Linked DNA regions of Homo sapiens: region 1 is linked to region 2. Evidence: promoter capture Hi-C in 16 types of primary human blood cells and fetal thymus (Javierre and others, 2016). All regions are on one chromosome and are shown on one strand. The core of a region is centred on a gene start or on the middle of the fragment in contact, and the rest is flanking DNA. Distances in the headings are between cores, read along the strand shown. Region 1 has its middle 140 kb from the start of GRASLND. Region 2 holds the start of MBOAT2 (membrane bound glycerophospholipid O-acyltransferase 2).

Region 1 (2,700 bases), core at 66-2,565, 1.9 Mb after region 2:
TATTATCCTCTAAAAACTATTTCTCATTCTTGTGTTGAGTAATTTAAAAAGCAATGCCATCGTTACCAAAGTAAATGTAAGATGTAGTTCTAGGCCTCAGCATTCAGCCTAAATCATAGGCCCTAAAGAGTGGTGTGCAATTCTGACAGCAGAAGACTTGCCTAAGCCCTATTTTTAAGCTGGCTGCTTGTGATGGAAACATGGCCCGTAGAAATGTGTGCAGATAGACACGGGAAATAAGCAAATCTTTGAGAAAGCCTTAGCTGAGATTATTTTGCTCATCTTGGAATTAAAAAAAACATCATCACCCTTGCCATGTGACTTGGCTCCTCCATTTTCCCTCAGAATATGATTAATTGCTCTCTAAATAATAAAAGTCTTCCAGGAACAATAGAAAATATCTACTATGGAACATTCATAAATATTCAGCTGAAGCCTGGTGGGAATGCTAGGCTCCCATGAGAGCTCTGTGCTGACATTGGAAGTCAGAAACCAACTCGGAGACATAAAACTGTGCAGTAAAAATATTTACACAAATGAGTTTGGGGTGAGTTGTCAGAGTGCCATGTTCCTCTTTTGCCTGGACGTCGGGAATTAATTTGGACCTGATGGTGAAGCTCAGGTCTGAAATCATAGCAGCTTTTTTATATCCATGGACAGCTCACATAAATGTCAGGGGTGAGCAGAGTAGAAACACTTGGGCCACTACCATAGTAGAGCCCAGGGCATCAAAATGTTGCTTTATTTCCCTTTGATTCCATAGGTTCCATCCAGCCTTCTAGAAATCATTTGGTGCCACCTACTAGAAACTAGGAAAAACAAACTATTAGACTCAGGTCCCATCTCCTCTCAAGGAAACTACATGCCAAAAAGGAATACATAGGTATTTGCAATTCAACACAAGTGCCGGCATGCTGATCTGACCACATGCTACTAGAGCATAAGAAAAACAAAAGACTGCAGGGGTTGCAGGGGCGATGGGGTCAGGTGGATGACTGCACAGGAAAGGCTCTATGTAAGATGGGGCATCTGAGTGGGTCTCAGAAGAGGTTATAAATTCTTGCAGGTGAGAAGAGAGTAAGGGAATGCTACGCATCTCTGGTGTGGTCTGGGAAACCAAGGGTGACAACGATGTGGTTAGGGACAACGAGCTGGGAACATCAGCCCTAAATCTGGAATGGAAATTTGGGGATCCAGAAAGATGCAGTGATCTTTCTCTCCATTTCATTTTTGGTTTATTCTGGCTGAAGTTTTGCCAGGGGGAAAGGTTATAAAGGGCATTGGAATGTTAGTCTGTCTGAATCCTTCAGGATTTGAAGGTAACAAAAGCAAGAACCAGCCCTGCAGGTCATCGTGTGCCTGAAGAAAATGACAGATGGCCACACAGAGGCAACAGACAGCTTGGAACAGCACATGTGCTCTCTTTCCTGCCCCTCTCAGCTCTGGAAATATTTCTGGGAACGCAGAATGCCAGCCTAATCCATCTGGAAACCTTAGATTAGGAAGAAAAAAAAAAACAAAACAGGATCATGTCTTATTTCAACTTTCAAATGTTTTGAGGAAAGTGCCAAGAGAAGGGGCAGAAAGAAGAGAAACAAAGAAGAGAAGTGAGAGGAGGAGATGAAGAAGAAAGAGGAGACACAATTAGTTGAACTATGTTTAGCAGTAGATTCACTCTAGAAGATTCATTCTGATGGCTGAAACTTCCAGAACATGGATAACGTTTCAAGACACTGACATGATGGGGAATATTAATTTGAATGTGCTATTTTCCTATGATAGCATTTTAAGACTGTAAGTATAAACAGCTACACAAACAAGCCCTTATGTGGGTTCAGATGTCCACAACAACATAACTTTATTTTTCTACCTGCAGCGCCACTTTTACTCAAGAGAAGAAAATTAAATTTTAAGTAATTCATATTAAGCAAGCAAATCAAGGATTTTCAGCTGGTTTAGTGATTCTCTCTCACCCTTTCTCCTCTGAGTTGGTGTAAGTTCTCCAGCACCAAAGCACTGAGAAGGAAAGTGCTGGGTTCTCAGTGCTCAGCATCTGTCATCATTAGAGTTTATTGAGATTTCTCCTTAACTGCTGGACTCTGGTTGCTGGCACCTGGACCTTCTGGTGTGGCTTGAGCTATCTGCCTCCAGCTGGTCCCCAAGGTTCTCTCTATACTGGTCACTCTGCATCTTCATCAAAAGTCTCTTCTAAAACATGAAAGCTGACACTTGACTCTTTTGTTTCTCTCTGTATGTTTGATGTAATAACCCTACCAGACAACATGAGCATAGATGCCCTTGCTGCCTGACTCAGGAAGTGGGTGGGAGGGGAACACGGGGCATGGCACAGAACAGGACGTACTGAAAGCTGAAGCCTTTGGTTAATCCTTTACAGTATTATTCTGATACATCCAAAGTAGCATTTATTTTTTTTTGAGGCGGAGTCTCGCTCTGTCACCCAGGCTGGAGTGCAGTGGCATGATCTCAGCTCACTGAAGCTCCACCTCCCAGGTTCATGCCATACTCCTGCCTCAGCCTCCCAAGTAGCTGGGACTACAGGCACCCGCCACCATGCCTGGCTAATTTTTTGTATTTTTAGTAGAGATGGGGTTACACTGTGTTAGCCAGGATGGTCTCGATCTCTTGACCTCATGATCTGCCCGCCTCAGCCTCCCAAAGTGCTGGGATTACAGGTGTGAG
Region 2 (2,700 bases), core at 180-2,679:
TAAGCTAGTCATCAACCCAATGGTATAACTGATAGCTGACGGGAGTTTCTGGAATGGGTGTTAAGTGTGAGAGAGATGAAGGCCTAGTGATAAGGTCGGCTCTAAATGTAGATTTACTTGGATTCCAATCTACTTACCAGCTGTGTGCCCCTGGGCAAGTTACCTCTTCTGTGACTCAACTTCCTTGAAGGAGGGTGTGTAAAAGTGTCTATTTCACACGGTTATTGTGAGGATTAAATACCAAAAGTATTAAAGCTGTGGTTAAACTCTCAGTAAACATTAGTTATTTCTACCAAAGTTAAACTGCCAAATCCTTGAGTCTTGATTTGTCCTCATAACTGCTGTGGCATTTCTCCTCTTTTAAAGTCTTCTGAACAGAAGTTGACGTTTGCATTTTAAAGGAACTCAAATGGCTTACTTTTACGAAGTTGGGGGGATTATATATACACGTGACCCGCCAGGGTATGTAAACCTGGCGGACTTCAACAGTCTGGGGGTGCCTGCGCTCAAGGGGTGAAGGGATGCTTAGAAACTTTCTCAGGAAGAAGGTGGGGCCTTCAACGAGGGCGGCTGGCTACAAAGAACTAAACTTTCACACAGCAAAGGGGAGCCGGTCTCCCTGCGCCCGCGGGCGTCGAACCCAGGCCCAGCTCTCACCACCCAAAGGCCCGGGTGCGGCTGCAGGGTGACGAAAGCGTCAGACCCCGGGGCTGCTCTCAGCTTTGGGCTTTCACCCGGCACTCTCCCAGACAAAGGGGCTTCTCAGCCAGGTCGCTGTTTTGGTTTGTCGTCCTCCCAGCCCCCACCTTCGTCCCCAACTTCCCCTGGCGCTGGCTCGGCGGCGTCCCTCACATCGTCCCTCCGGCCGCCACCCCGGGCCCCTTTGTTGTCTGCCGTCTCTCCCAGAGAGGGGTGGGGGGCCGCGACATTCCAGGGAGGAGAAACCGAGGAGTGAGGGGCAAAGACGCTCTTCCATGCTCTCACCCGAGGAGCGCGCCCCACGACGCTGGCCAGCCGTTCTCCGGCGACGGCCCGGGCCGCGCCTCGGCGCCCTCGCCCGGGTCCTCGGCACGGGGGAGGGGCGTGGCGCGGCCGGCGCTCTCTGATTGGCTGCGGGCGTCAGGGCGTCGCGCCGCGATTGGGTCGCGCAGCTGTCTGGAGCGAGAGCGCGCGAGGTGGGGAGGGGGCCGCTGGAAGCTGCTGGAAGTCGGGGGCGGGGGATGCGGCTGGGGCGCCGGGGCGGGGACGACGGGGGCGACGGCAGGACGGGCCGCGCCTGTGCAGGGCGGTCGGGGGCGGCGGGCGCGGGAGGAGGTGGCGGCGGAGGGGGAGGTGCGAGCCGGGCACCGCCCCCGGCCCCTCCCCGGCCTTCCCCGCGCAGAGCTCCGACCGCGGGCGGCCCAGGGGCGGGCGCGCCGCTGCATCCCCATCCTCGTCGTCGCCCGGCACAGCGCGAGCGGGCGAGCGGCGCGGGCGGCCGGAGCGCCGAGGCCCGGCCATGGCCACCACCAGCACCACGGGCTCCACCCTGCTGCAGCCCCTCAGCAACGCCGTGCAGCTGCCCATCGACCAGGTACCCCGAGGCGCCCTGGCGCCGGGCGTCGCGCCCTCGCCGCCCCTCCCCGCCGCGGTGCCACCCGACCGGGGGCCCGGGAGGAGGGTGGGGGCTGGGGCCGGGCGCCCGGTGCCCCCCTACCCGCCGCTCCCTGGAAGGGAGGGGGCAACAAGCCGGTTATTGTCCCAGAGCCCCCTCCCTCCTGGGTGCGCCCCCAGCCCGCCATCCCCGGGCCGAGCGGGAGGTGGGCCGGGCGTTGTTGCCGGCGACAGCCCCCGGGGAGGGTGGTCGTATGGGCGTGCGGGTGTGCATGCGGTCCCTGCCCTTCGCGGCAGCGGCGCTCGGATCCGGTGGTCGGGTCCCGGAGCAGCCCCCGGTGCGCATGGACCGGGTTGTGGAAAGGGTGCGGAAGGCTGCGCTTTGGGGAGCCTGGCGTGGTGCTGCCTGCCCCGCGCGCGCCTCTGAGCGACCCCCGGAGAGGCTGATGCATGGGTCTGGGTGTGCTGGGTGCCTTAGAGACGGCGTCGATGGGTGCTAGGGGCCCGGAGAGGCTTAAGCGCTACTGCACTTTGGGGACAGTTTGCGTTGGATTGTGGCTTAAGAGAGACAGAGGCAACAGTTTGTGGGAAGGCAGACAGGTTATGAAGAAAAGTCGGAGTTAATCCCAGGATTCTTGCTGACAAAGTGGCAACCTTGTAGATTGATGCAGCCACTTTACCTCCTTGCCCAGCCCTCAGAAAAGCTCTTGACAGTGTCTAGGGAAGGGTGGTATTTAAATGAGGCCAATCGAGTTTGATGGTTTAAAGGGCCTAACGATTACTGAGAAATAAACAGCATTGTGATGGGAAAAGCAGCGCCATTTTTACTGAGAAAAGAAAGTTTGGAAGTATTTTGTTGTGACAGTGAGATTTAGGGAAGTTGTTAATGAGGCGGGGGCTGGGGGGCGGGGGTGTATAGTTAGGTGATTGCTCTAGCCCCAGGCTAAAGGTAGTTAACTTTGGAAATTTTGCTTACAGTTATTTCAAGTGTACTTAACCTGGAAGTGTTTGGACTTCACACGGGATACTGGTTCACTGTCTTGAACTTGAAGGTGCTGCTGTCATTTAGTCTTCAGGGATTTCACTTCAATACGGGATTCCTTCTTG

The links. The method cuts DNA at HindIII sites, captures the fragments that hold promoters and counts their contacts. A CHiCAGO score of 5 or more calls a contact.
Region 1: a fragment that was not itself captured here is called in contact with the fragment with the promoter of MBOAT2 in region 2 in 2 of 17 cell types (total CD4 T cells and total B cells); the score reaches 5.4 in total CD4 T cells.

The regions. Positions count from the first base shown.
Region 1 is chr2:7,059,081-7,061,780 of GRCh38, reverse strand. It overlaps a transcript of RNF144A not described here. Among named protein-coding and RNA genes, the nearest start is that of GRASLND, 140 kb to the right of the region's middle. The HindIII fragment of the contact is 5,110 bases long and covers 1-2,700 here.
Region 2 is chr2:9,002,413-9,005,112 of GRCh38, reverse strand. It overlaps MBOAT2 (membrane bound glycerophospholipid O-acyltransferase 2), which reads left to right and starts at 1,429. Exons shown (of 13, transcript NM_138799.4): 1 at 1,429-1,573. The coding sequence starts at 1,499. It overlaps LOC124907728 (a long non-coding RNA gene), which reads right to left and starts at 1,037. Exons shown (of 2, transcript XR_007086199.1): 1 at 985-1,037. RefSeq lists silencers at 1,056-1,515, 2,059-2,353 and an enhancer at 2,118-2,700. The HindIII fragment of the contact is 14,053 bases long and covers 1-2,700 here.